Linked DNA regions of Homo sapiens: region 1 is linked to region 2. Evidence: promoter capture Hi-C in human tissues and cell types (Jung and others, 2019). All regions are on one chromosome and are shown on one strand. The core of a region is centred on a gene start or on the middle of the fragment in contact, and the rest is flanking DNA. Distances in the headings are between cores, read along the strand shown.

Region 1 (7,065 bases), core at 791-3,290, 50 kb before region 2:
AAAGGAAGAAAGAAAGAAAAACAAGGATCCTCCCTCCATCAGTTTGCCTTTTCAACTCAAAGCAGCCCCTAGACGTTAAGGTACATACAAATATGTCTTGGGAATAAGGCTGTGAAATGTGAATGAAATACTTGCACACGGAGCACAGCATTACTATAAAAGAATAGTACCTGTGACCCTGACCAACAGGGTTTCAGGAAAGGGGAACAAAAGAAACAAAAACCAAAAAATACGCACAACGCAAAATAAGAAAAAAATGGCTATGGCCGGGCGCTGTGGCTCACGCCTGTAATCCCAACACTTTGGGAGGCCGAGGCGGGCGGATTGCCTGAGTTCAGAAGTTCGCGACCAGCCTGTGCAACACGGTGAAACCACGTCTCTACTAAAATACAAAAAATTAGCGGGGTGTGGTGGCGGGCGCCTGCAGTCCCAGCTACTCCGGAGGCTGAGGCAGGAGAATTGCTTGAACTCGGAACTCCGACTCAAAAAAAAAAAAAAAAAAAAAAAAAAAAAAGAAGAAGAAGAAAAGAAAAAAGAAAAAAAAATGGCTATCAGGCAAATCATGGATCTCCCAGAGATGTCCCTACTTAAACTTTACATGAGCACCTGTTGATTTTTTTAACCAAACCAGGGAAATACGGTCATAATATCATAGGAACATCTTTTTACTAAATTATACATATTGAGCATGTATCTGCTCAATATTATTCCGTAACATCAATAATTTCTTCCGTGAGATGATAAATTTAAATAGTGGCACCTATTCACCCAAGGGTTGGTCACAAAGTCAGTGCGATCCCCGTGAACACACCCGTGAAGCTTTGCTTCCCAGCAACTTTCCTGGGGGCCGCGGGCGAAGGAACACCCCCAGATGCCGCTGCGCAGGGACAGGGGACGCGCCCAGACGTAGAGGCCCTGACCTCTGAATCTTGGCGGGGCACCCAGGAGCCCGGCTTCGGGGTGCTTAGCGGGGCGAAGCCGCCCCCGGACCCGCGTGGCTCCAGCCTCCTGGGGGTACCTGGCAGAGGGGGCTGCAGCGAGCGCCCTGCCGCGCCGCTTCCTCCGCGCGTCTCCCGCCTGGCTCCGCCAAGACTGGGGGCTTCCCCATAGGCCCGCGTCCGAGCGCGTCCTCAGGCTTCGCTCCGCGAGATCTGGGGGCCCCGTGGGCTGGGGTTCGGGCGGGGTCCGTTCCTTGCGGTCCGCGGTCTTGAAGCAATTTCCCGGCAAAGTCCCGGGACAGCGGGAAAGAAACTGGTCTCCCTGCCTGGGGTCGTTCCCGGTGGATGTGCCTCTTCATCAGACGGAATTTTCCGTCTGTGCAAAAATGAAGCTTACTCGGTATCATGTGTGCTTTTTGGGGGGAAGGACAAAAAAATATATTTTCTATAAACAACTTAATTGGCTTATTAATACTCAAATACCCTGCTTCTGTTTTATTAAATACAGTCTTCCATATAAAAATCCTTGAACTCGTAAAGACTAAAGGTAACAGTATAATAAACAGTCAACCCAACCATATTTGTTCGCTTTGTAGTAAGCTTGGCAACTTGGCAACTTGTTAACTTGTTATTTTATTCTCCTTAAGTTCTGTACTGAAAAAGGCTGTTAAGCCTAGTTTCGCTCTTGTTGCCCAAGCTGGAGTGCAATGCTGCGATCTCAGCTCACTGCAACCTCTGCTTCCCGGGTTCAAGAGATTCTCCTGCCTTAGCCTCCCCAGTGGCTAGGATTACAGGCGCGCGCCACCACGCCCGGCTAATTGTTTGTATTTTTAGTAGAGACAGGGTTTCACCATGTTGGCCAGTCTGGTCTCCAACTCCTGACCTCAGGTGATCCGCCTGTCTTGGCCTCCCAAAGTGCTGGGATTACAGGCGTGAGCCACCGCGTCCGGACTCCCTTGCTTATTATTTAAAGTAAATACATTTAAACGTTTCTTTAAAAAATTTAGACACTGCAAATTTGATTATAGCAGTGCATAAAGCTATAATGTAGCTCCCCCTCCTAATATCCAGCCCACCTCCCAAGTACGACCAATTGTCCACTGATGCCTAACTCTGCACTTTAGGCTACAGCAAACAATGCATTTTTAAAAACATGGTTACAACTTCTTTACAATTTTCTTTTAACATGTAAAATTGTCTCCTAATCGAGTTATCTGATCAGGCTATAGAGAAGGAAATCTTTCTGTTCCTTAACTACATTGTAGGGAATATCATGTTTATTTAATCAATTCTTTGTGATGGATGTTTGTTTCCAGTTTTCACTATTATAAATAATATGTGGCAAATAGCATTGTTCATGCATCTTTTGATATTTGTGAGATTATTTCTTTGCACAAGAGCCAAAATGATAGAATTGTGCAGTTAAAATGTGTACAAATGAACATGTAACAGATGCTAACAGGGAGTCCTCAAAGAGGCTTGTATCAGTTTATGCTGTTTCCTCACATCCACTCCAACACCAGATAGCAAGCATTTTTGGTAACCGATTTATAGAAATGCTTAAGGTTAAACATCAAATGGTGCACCATAAATTTCTTTTAAAAAAAGAAAAACACAATGCTTAAAGAATTACTATTCATGTTTTAATGGAAAGAAAGTGGTCCAAACATATATTCATTCAACAGACACTTATTGAAAACCTGCTGTGTGACAGGCATCATTGTAGATGCTGGCATAATAACAAGGAATAAAAGAGATAAAAATCCTCACTTTGGCATAGTCAATTGTTAAGAAACAATGGGATACTTAGGCCGGGCGCAGTGGCTCACGCCTATAATCCCAGCACTTTGGGAGGCTTAGGCGGGCAGATCACGAGGTCAAGAGATCGAGACCATCCTGGCTAACACGGTGAAACCCTGTCTCCACTAAAAAAACAAAAACAACAACAACAAAAAATTAGCCGTGCCTGGTGGCGGGCGCCTGTAGTCCCAGCTACTCGGGAGGCTGAGGCAGGAGAATGGCGTGAACCCAGAAGGCAGAGCTTGCGGTGAGCCCAGATCGCGCCACTGCACTCCAGCCTGGGCGACAGAGCAAGACTCCGTCTCAAAAACAAACAAAAAAAGAAACAATGGGACACTTAAAGGCATCTAATAAAAGGGACTTTTACAAAGCCTGGGCAGAGTTGGTGAGACGCCCTGTGACTAGTGACAGTGAAGTCATTATCACCGCCAGGGTTGATGTGAGGGGAAGGAAATGTTACCAGAGCCTGGCAAAAAAGACCATCCCAACAAGAGCTATGGCCTTAAAAAGAGGAACATTGTTAGATTTGTTTCGCTCTTTTGGAGCAATTGTAATAAGCTTATGTTTAATTTCAGTTTCCAACTGTTTTTAGCTAATATGTAGTATGGTTGATATTTATGTGTTGACTTTGCATTCTGTGATCTTGCTTAACTCACTTATTCGTTTTAGGATTTTTTTTTGTTTTTTGTAGATTCCTTGGGATTTTCTGTGTAGACAAACATGCAATCTGTAAATAAGGATAGACTTATTTTTTCCTTTCCAATTTGTATGCCTTTTCTTTTCTTACATTACTGTAATGGCCAGGATTCCCAGTACTATGTTGAATAGTAGTGGGGAGCTTTTTTGGAGCAACTGTAAATAACATTATGTTTTTTATTTCAGTTTCCAATTGTTTTTGGCTAATACGTAATATGGTTGATATTTATGTGTTGGCTTTGCATTTTGTGATCCTGCTAAACCCACTTATTAGTTTTAAGATTTTTTTTTTTTAGATTCCTTGGGATTTTCTATCTAGACAACCATGCAATCTGCAAATAAGGATAGATTTATTTTTTCTTTCCAATTTGTATAGCTTTTCTTTTCTTACATTATTGTAATGGCCAGGATTCCCAGTACTATGTTGAATAGCAGTGGGGAGATCAGACACACTTGCCTTGGTCCTGATTTTAGGGGAAAAGCATTGAGACTTTAGCCATCAAGTGTGATGCTAGCTTTAGTTAATTTGTGGTTCCTCGTTTTTTAGGTTGAGAAAGTTTTCTTCTAGCTCTAGTTTTCTGAGAGTTATTATTATAAATGGATGTTTGATCTGGTCAAATGCTTTTGCCGCATCAACTGATATGATCCTGTGGTGTTTTATTTTTTCTTTAGTCTGTCAAAATTGCAGATAACATTGGTTGATTTTCAAATATTGAACCAGCCTTGCATTTGCTGAATAAACCACACCTAGTTGTAGTGTATCTTTCTTTTTATGTATTAATAGCTATGATTTACTGATATTTGTTGTAAACTTTGTGTCCATGTTCAGAAGAAGAATTGGTCTATAGTTTTCCTTCTTTGTACTGTCTTTGGCTTTGATATCAGCATAATGTTGGCTTTGTAAAATAAGCTGGGAAGTGTTCTCTCCACTTTTGTTTTCTGGAATAATTTATGTAAAACTGATGTCATTTCATCTTTAAAAGTTTGGTATAATTACCCAAGGAAGACATCTATGCCTGGAGATTTCCTTTTCAGCATGTTTTAAACTATGAATTCCATTTCTTTAATATAAAACTACTTAAATTATCTATTTTATAGTTGGTGAGTCTTCTTCGTGTTTTTCAAGCAATTAGAACATTTAAGTTATTGAATTTTGGATAGACTTGTTCATATTATTCACTTATTAAGCTTTTAATGTCTGTAGGTTCTATAGTTAGAACCCCTGTTTTCTGCCTAACGTTGGTAATTTACATCTTCTCTTCATCTTTGTCAATCTTGCTAGATGTTTATCAATTTTATTTATCTCTTCCAAAACCCCCCACAACTTTTGGGTTGATTTCCTCTTTTGTTTTTATGTTTTCAATTTTCTTGATTCCTCTTATCTTTATCATTTCCTTTCTTCTTCTAGCTTTTAGTTTATTTTGCTTCCCTTTTTCTGTCTTGTGGTAGAAACTTACATTGTTAATTTGAGACTTTTCCTTTTCTAATATAAACATTTAATGTTCTAAATTTCTTATAAGCACAGCTTTAGGTGCATCCAATAGATATTATGTTGTAAATGATACAAATTGTGAATGGATGAGTGATCAACCAATAGCTCTGCTGGTAATTGATTTACTTTTCTTCAATAAAGTTGCATAAACCAATGGAAAAAAATTAAAGACTATAATCCATTTTGTGTTAATTTTTGTGTATGATATGGAACATGTAGTAAGGCTTGAACTTTTTTTCCTCTACAAATATCTAATTGTTCCATCATTATTTATGGAAAAGACTATCCTTCCCTTGCTGAGGTATCTTGGCACCTCTGTAGAAAATCAGTTGTTCAGACCATAAATGTTCATTTTCTGTTTCTGGACTTCATATTCTCCTCCATTTATTTATATGTCCATTCTTATGCCAATATCACACTATCGTAAATACTGTAGTTTTATATTAATTATTTAAATAAAATGTAAATCCTCTAGCTTTGTTTTATTTCATAAAGTTGTTTTGGTTATTTACGTCTTCTGCATTTCCACATAAATGTTAAGCCTTCCTTGTTAATTTACACAAGAGCTTGGATTGTATAAAATGAACTATTTTGGAAGTATGAGTGTGTGTGTGTGTGTGTGTGTGTGTGTGTATACTCATTGTAATAACATATAATCAGAAATCTAAAAAATAATATTAGGAAATAATATTTTTAATACAAGTGTTCAGGCTTTCAATAGTTAACTATTTAATATTTATATAGATTGAGGTGACTAAAGAATGTGTTCACCAAAAAAGGCCTAAATTCATTAAGACAGTCTCTGTGAAAAAGGGATGTTAAAGGTTATGAGAAAAGTTACTAGATCTGCATTTTTAAAATAAAAATGACTTTCTGAGATATTGGACAGAAGCAGCTTTAGTTATTTGGAGGTCGAGCATACATGTCTACTATGATTCACCATAAAGCCATATTAGCAGCCATTGGCCAGTACATTTCGCATTATTTCCTTTTGCATATTTCATATGATAAATTCCTTTTAAGTTTGAGCACCAATAAAAAATTAGGCATTTCTTTTTTAAAATAGTAGGCTTCCTTTAATCAGGTATTTTGAATTATCTTTTGATTCTCTTTTCCATTGTAAATTAGCAAATTACAGAGATTATATTAATTTATTATAAATGTACTCCCATTTTATTTAAAAAGGTGATAGTATTATACATTTTAATCTCTAATCACTGTAAACTATGGAAATATCAAGCCTCTAATTGAAAATATTCCTGAAAGCATCAGTAGGAAAGAATCAATCTCTTGGTCTCAGTCATGTAGCAAGAGCATTCCATGATTGTTTTAACTGCATGCTTACATATTTTAGTTACGTCTTATTGTAAAATGTCAATGCCATTATAGAAATTTCAAATTTAAAAAGTACATCTTGTCCTTGGACACTGTGGCCTCAAAAGACTAGCTGAAGTTTTTCTTCACCTTAATTATCATTGCTGAACTTGTAGGAGGGGTGGTTTAAATGTGTCAGTGACTTAAAACGAGAATTCTCTCTTTGATTTGGATAATCCATGAAAACTAGTGATGTTACCTTGTTCATGAAGGAACAATGCAGAGAAGACACCACACTGGCTGTCATGAGAAGAATGGACAATAGGAGATGAAGAATGAAAAGACAGAATTCTGCAAGACAACAGTTGCAGTAAAGTTGTTTAGTTTCTTTGCATTGCCACATTAAAAAAAGGAAAGACAAAGCAGCTAGACATCGAAACAAAACTAAACACGAAACACCAAGGACAATATATTTTTTAAAAACATGGTGACAGGATGTTTTCATGAATCCCAAAATATGGGGTGTGGAGACAAGCCACCTGACTACAAGTGACATCTTGTGTAGGAGGAAGCAAGGAAAGCATTGGTGGGATGATTCCAGAACAGCAGCTCTAAAAGGAGGGGTTTGTTTTCTCCAATACCAGTAGGGCTCAAGGGGCTTGTGTAAGATAAGCTGAAGGGGATGGAGCAGTGTAGCTCCTCTGAAATCACCTGCCAGGGATCCCTTTTAGGGCAGGGACCTACACTGAAGAGAGACTGCTTCTAGTGGAATGAAAATCAAGCAGGATAGGGACAACAAAGGTGACAGAGAGAGAAGGTTTAGAC
Region 2 (6,761 bases), core at 491-2,990:
ATGAAGATTTTTTTAAAGACAGGCTACAATAATTCCCATGCTGAGAACCACATGTGATGACACTTGTGATGAAGATGAGGACAGCAATGAGCTGAGAGACTCCAGCCAGGATTCACACATGCGAGGGGATGCATGAGAATGGGGATGGGACATTGGTGGTTAGCATCCTTGCTTGTCTCAGAATGGACGTGGGTTGTGGATTTCTAACTCCTGGAGAAACCAGAGTTCTAGGAATTGTAAGCCACTTTATGTTAGGAAAGAAAAAGACGGTGTTCTGCTCTCCTGTCCCTTAAAACTGTGCGTACTGCCACTAAACCTGGAAGCTGAGAACAGTATAATGGCTACTCCTGACTTCCTTTCATCAAATCAGCCTGCTATTGTTTTCTGCAATGGTTGTGGTGCAGAATCTTTTTGTGGTGCAGCCAAGATTCACACTTGAGTCTCCTTACTGCAAGTTTGCACTCTCACAGTGGAGAGTTAACAATAATTGCCTAATATGTTACACTTTTTTGGGAAGAGTTACCAGATAAAGTGCAAGATCCCAGTGAAATGTGAATAGCACAGATAAAGGACAGATTTTTTTTGTAAAAGTGTACTGTAAATGTCATATGGATCATAATTATAGTAAAAACTAATTCACTGTTTATCTTCAATTCAAATTCCACTTGGTATTCTTTATTCATACTTGCTAAATCTGGCCACTATGTTCTTTCATGTATTTTTAATTTTAAAAAACAGTCCAACATCTCATTCTAGCAATTTACCTACAGAAATAAAGAGAGGAACCACATTACTGGGACAAATACAGTCACTGCAAATATCAGAAGAATACTAGAACATATTAATATATTAATTTTTACCCCCAAAAAACTGAAAATATTTTTAGACAGCAAAAATAGCTTCATTATGCTTTTGATTGCATAATATATCTCTGGAAAGATGAAAAAGAATCAGGTAACACCTATTTCCTCCAGGAAAGAAAATGTGGTGGCCAGAGAAAAGAGGTGGGAGGAAGGCTGGTCATTGCCTATTCCACTGTGCACAATTTGAATTTGGAACCATGCAAAAGTATTGCTTAGTTAAGTTAAAATCATGTAAAAGATACAAAATAAACATTTAACACCAGCACAATATGCTGGGAAACAAAATGAAAGGATTTCTGGTCTCGGTGCTGTAGGTCACATAGCCACTCTTTCCTGGACTGAGTCTTCCTAAGAAAGGGGACGGGAAGTAAGGCTGGCCTACTGGTGTGGACAGATTCCAGCAACATACATGACCTGGGGGCACAAGGACTGCTTCCTAAACAATGATGAGCACACAGCCACCTAATAGCCTGGATCAGCTGAGGCCATTCTGATTTCAAACACTCAGTCCCCTTGCCTTCCTAAGAACCCCTGTGTTTCTCAGACTGAAAACGTGTTCTGAATTTTGTTAAGTAAGTGTGGCCCCTGTTGAAATTCATCAAGAGTGGGAAAGAGCCAAAGTGGGAAGGAGCATGGGTTGATTGGCACAAAAGTAGGTCTGTTGATAAAGAATGGAAGTAAAGGGGACATCAGGTAGAAGCTTTTGCTGTGAGTCAGAAGGACAATTTAAAAGTTGCCTAAAGAGGCGCACACTGTCTGTGTTGCTGCCATCCAGTTGGATGGCAACCAACTGAACCAAGGGAACCTCAGGTTCTTGCCTACTGGCCAGAGCCCTTCACAGAATGTCCCCCACCCCCGCCAAGCCCGGCTGCCCACTGCCCCTCCCCCTCTGCAGAATGTCTGGGGTCCTGTGTTCCAAACCTGTTTATATGCAAATTATCCCTGCTCCACTTGGACTCAGGAGGATCTGCTGAGTCAGGTCACTCTCTGGGTCCTGCCCTTGACTTTTTTCATTGCGGAAGCTGCCAGACAGTGGTGGTCAGTGCCCAGCCTGAGGGGATGGCTTCAAATGGAGGTGAGCCTGTAGGGATGGGGCATTATCCTAGTCTGCCTTGCCTCAACTCCTTGGGAATTCAAATTTGAACTGTCCCTGGGGACAGCTTATAGGGCTGATGTTGAGGGAGCACTGGATGTCCCCAAGGACATCACACCTGGGGATGGCCATGGCACCCTGAGTCTGTGGTTAGGGAGGAGGGCTCCTTAGAGGCGGACCAAGATGCCTGGGGGAATACACCGTGTAGTGGAAAGGATGGAGAGGATGGCTTGATCCTTTCTAGAGGGGGACAGGTCACGTCATTGTGTTTGTAGGGAGTGGTGGGATCGTGTTGTGCTGGTGGCCCAGGGAGAATGACGGGCAAGCCTGAGCCCTGTGCCGTGTCTTCAGGCACCTGGAAGGTGCCCTTCCATAGTGTTTAGAGGGATTTGGACTGGAGTTTTCTAGTTCTTAGAGAGGAGTGGGGAGAAGTGGTCTCAGCCAGAAAACTGTTGGGTGGGTTGGCTGTGACAGAGCATGTAGTGACAGCCTCTGGGTGGGCAAGGCTGGGGGCCACTGTAACTGCCACAGCCCAGAGCCTCTCAGCTTCCTCCCCAGAGATGGCTTCTCCGTCAGTTCAGGTAGCTGTTGGCTTTGATTTAACAGGGGTGGGGGCAGAATGGGGAAGTTCAGGCAACACAGGGCCTGGGTTTCCTGAGTTGTTCTGAATTGTTTGCCCTTTGGTGGAAGCTCAGGTCTTCAGACCCACTTCCTCTCGTCAGCTAGCTCGTGGCCCGTCCTCTGTACTTTGTGTTACTGTGGAGGTGAAGAATTTGCTCCTGTTCCATTTATACTACCTCATGAACGGGCGACAGGTGTGGATTCTTGCTGGTTCTCAGTGGAAGGCTCTGAAAAGGCTGGTTTCCTTTTCAGTAGAGGAAGGAGAGTAGCGCACAAATAGGAAGACAGTCCTATTATTATTATTATTCAAACTAGGATGTGTGTCCTGACTGATGAGGTGCATGCGCTGTATCCCTTATTCCCCTTGGCTAGAGACTGCATGAGGTCCTAGTGAACAGGGATGAGTTCCAGACAACTCTGCCTCACCTGGCCTGTGGCCCAAGAACCCCTGGTTCTTCGTTGGTCCCTATGTTCAGTTACTGGGAGCTCAAAGGAGAAGGACCAGAGATGGGCTCCCTGTCCCACTATTTAGTGTAACATGACTAGCAGCTGTGAAAATCCCTGGCCGGGCGCGGTGGCTCACGCCTGTAATCCCAGCACTTTGGGAGACCAAGGCATGTGGATCACGAGGTCAAGGAGTTCAAGACCAGCCTGACCAATATGGTGAAACCCCGTCTCTACTAAAAATACAAAAATTGGCTGGGCATGGTGGCGGGAGCCTGTAATCCCAGCTACTCAGGAGGCTGAGGCAGGAGAAGTGCTTGAACCTGGGAGGCAGAGGTTGCAGTGAGCTGAGATCGCACCACTGCACTCCAGCCTGGGTGACAGAGCGAGACTCCGTCTCAAAAAAAAAAAAAAAGAAAAAAAAGAAAATCCCTAGACACCTCCCCTGATAGCCCTGCTGCTCACCATTTGCTGGCTGTGTTCTAGTCATGTGCAGCTGTTGCTGGCTACACAATGACAATATCTCAGGGGACTCCACCACTGCTTCTCAGATCTGCTCCCTGGGAACTGAGCTTCCTGAGTGGCAGCTGGGACCACTGAGCACTGAGGAATGGGTGGCCTGAATCTGACCCCTATTTAACACTTGTGTGGGTGGTGCCAGGACAATCACTTGCATGCTGGGCGTTATGTGTTATGGGTTATCTTCAGGGTTCCTAGGGCGCTGGCTTGGGCGAGTTTCCATCCAGTGGTTTTTTTTTTTTTTTTTTTTTTTTTTTTTTTTTTTTTTTTGAGACGGAGTCTCGCTCTGTCACCCGGGCTGGAATGAAGTGGCACGATCTCGGCTCACTGCAGCCTCTGCCTCCTCGGTTCAAGCAATTCTCCTGTCTCAGCCTCCTGAGTAGCTGCGATTACAGGCACGCATCATCAGCTAATTTTTGTATTTTAGTAGAGATGGGGTTTCACCACGTTGGCCAGACTGGTCTTCAACTCCTGACCTCAGGTGATCCACCCGCCTGGGCCTCCCAAAGTGCTGGGATGACAGGCATGAACCAGCATGCCCGGCCTATCCAGTGGTTTTCTTTTGTTGTGTTGAGCTAGGAAAGAAAGGGGTTTACAAGAGCTTCAGGGAAAGGAAGACTGAAGAGGAGATGGGGCCATAATATTCGGAAACTTCTGGTTTCCTGTCGGCCTTCTGAATGCCGAGCACTGCCCTGGGGTAGGCCCCTCACCTGCTGCTGAGCACACTGAGAGCCACCAAGCCACCGAGAGACTCATCCCTGACCCACGGCTTGGGAGATGCCTGTGAGGCTGGTGCAGTCTGCCAGGGACACCCGAGGGAGACCCTCAGAGACAGCAAAGGCTTGGCTGTTTCTTCTTGGCAGACAAGGGTCAGGGAGTCTTGGTGACTGGCGCCAGGCTCTCTAGTGGAGCGACTCTGCCGTGGAGGAACAGAGCATCTGATGCACACTCAGGGACACTTGCAAGCTGCAGAGTTTCCCTGTCACATGCCCTCAGCTGTTGGGACTCCCCTGATTCCCCAGTGACTAGAGTGGACCTGGAGACGCCAGCTCATTCACCTCTTTCCTTTGTCTCCACAGCATACCCAGTGCTGGGACCCGGCGTGACCGTGAACCCTGGCACCTCCCTGTCTGTGTTCACGGCTCTGCCCTTTGCCACACCCTCTCCCGGCCCAACACACAGGCCGCCCCTCGTGACTGCAGTGGTTCCTCCAGCCGGCCCTCTGGTGCTCTCTGCCTTCCCCAGCACCCCTCTAGTGGCAGGACAGGATGGCCGCGGCCCAAGTGGGGCTGGGGCTTCCAACGTCTTTGTCCAGATGAGGACAGAAGTGGGGCCTGTGAAGCCCCCTCAGGCACAGACCTTGATCCTAACTCAGGCCCCCCTCGTCTGGCAGGCTCCAGGCACCCTCTGTGGAGGTGTCATGTGTCCACCTCCCCTACTCCTGGCAGCTGCTCCTGGGGTGCCCGTTACCTCTGCCCAGGTGGTTGGGGGCACCCAGGCCTGTGAGGGAGGCTGGTCCCATGGCCTTCCTCTTCCACCACCACCACCGGCTGCCCAGGTGGCCCCCATCGTGTCCCCAGGGAACGCTGGGCCATGGCCACAAGGGGCTCATGGAGAGGGCAGCCTGGCTCCCTCCCAGGCCAAGGCCCGGCCGGACGACTCCTGTAAACCCAAGAGTGTCTATGAGAACTTCCGACTCTGGCAGCACTACAAGCCCCTGGCCCGGAGGCACCTTCCCCAGAGTCCTGACACTGAAGCGCTTTCCTGCTTCCTCATGTGAGTGTCCTCGGGGCGCCGGAGCTTGTCCTGCAGCTCACTCATAAAGAGGCTGCTGGATGGACAGGAGGTCACACTGTTCAGGGGAGCTTGCAGGGCGGTTGTGAGGGTGATGGGTTGTGCTATGGGAAGGTACATTTTCAGCAACATTAATCTGGCTGTGGCTCAGGACAGACTGTCAGGGGCCTCATGTCAACTGCCTGTCACTGTCCCGTGAGTCCAGCCAATCCTTAATTTTTTTTTTTTTTTTTGAGATGGACTTTCACTCTTGTTGCCCAGGCTGGAGTGCAATGGCGCGATCTCAGCTCATCACAACCTCCGCCTCCTGGGTTCAAGTGATTCTGCTGCCTCAGCTTCCTGAGTAGTTGGGATTACAGGCATGTGCCACCATGCCTGGCTAATTTTGTATTCGTAGAGATGGGGTTTCTCCATGTTGGTCAGGCTGGTCTTGAACTCCCGACCTCAGTTGATCTGCCCGCCTCAGCCTCTCAAAGTGCTGAGATTACAGGCATGAGCCATCATGCCCCGCCCCAATACTTACTTTCTTTTCTTTTCTTTTCTTTTTTTTTTTTTTTTTGAGATGGAGTCTCACTCTGTCGCCCAGGGTGGAGAGCAGTGGCGTGATCTCGGCTCACTGCAAGCTCTACCTCCCAGGTTCACGTCATTCTCCTGCCTCAGGCTCCCGAGTAGCTGGGACTACAGGTGCCCGCCACCATGCCCGGCTAATTTTTTTGTATTTTTAGTAGAGACGGGGTTTCACCATGTTAGCCAGGATGCTCTCAATCTCCTGCCCTGGTGATTCTCCCGCCTCGGCCTCCCAAAGTGCTGCGATTGCAGGCATGACCCACCGTGCCCGGCTTTTACTTTCAATAATTTTCACAACCATGTTTACAGAAGACCCAGGTCAGAGAGGGTTCTTGGTGTGACGTGAGCCACGGTTTGGGTTTAGGTCTTTTTTGTTTGTTTGTTTGAGATGGAGTCTCGCACTGTCACCCAGGCTGGAGTGCAATGGTGCGATCTTGGCTCACCGCAACCTCTGCCTCCTGGGTTCAAGCAATTCTCCTGCCTCAGCCTCCCAAGTACCTGGGATTACAGGTGCCCGCCACCATGCCCGGCTAATTTTTTTGTATTTTTTAGTAGAGACGGGGTTTCACTATGTTAAGCAGGCTGGTCTTGAACTCCTGGCCTTGTGATCCACCCGCCTCAGCCTCCCAAAGTGCTGGGATTGCAGACGTGAGCCACCGCACCCACCCTGGGTTTAGGTCTTTGAGTGTACACCCCAGTGCCTTCCCTCGAACTGAGTGTCAATGGCCAGGGGCACATCACATGGGGCTGGGGGGAGGAGCTGCAGGGCCCAGCAGAAACCTGGCACACACCCACTCTTCTGCCGCGGTCCAGTTAGCACAGCGGTGGTGGAGCCTGCACAGGGGGATGGTCTTGGGACC

What was found. Contacts are between HindIII fragments. The study calls those that stand out against the background at their distance.
Region 1: a fragment that was not itself captured here is called in contact with the fragment with the promoter of NUTM2G in region 2 in 3 of the 25 tissues and cell types used here (dorsolateral prefrontal cortex, lymphoblastoid cells and thymus).

What each region holds. Positions count from the first base shown.
Region 1 is chr9:96,876,460-96,883,524 of GRCh38, forward strand. It overlaps a transcript of ZNF782 not described here. Among named protein-coding and RNA genes, the nearest start is that of ZNF782, 25 kb to the left of the region's middle. The HindIII fragment of the contact is 3,838 bases long and covers 122-3,959 here.
Region 2 is chr9:96,927,103-96,933,863 of GRCh38, forward strand. NUTM2G (NUT family member 2G) reads left to right here and starts at 1,741. Exons shown (of 7, transcript NM_001170741.3): 1 at 1,741-1,938; 2 at 4,620-5,316. The coding sequence starts at 1,923. It also overlaps a transcript of ZNF782 not described here. RefSeq lists enhancers at 3,835-4,720, 4,721-5,606. The HindIII fragment of the contact is 14,444 bases long and covers 1-6,761 here.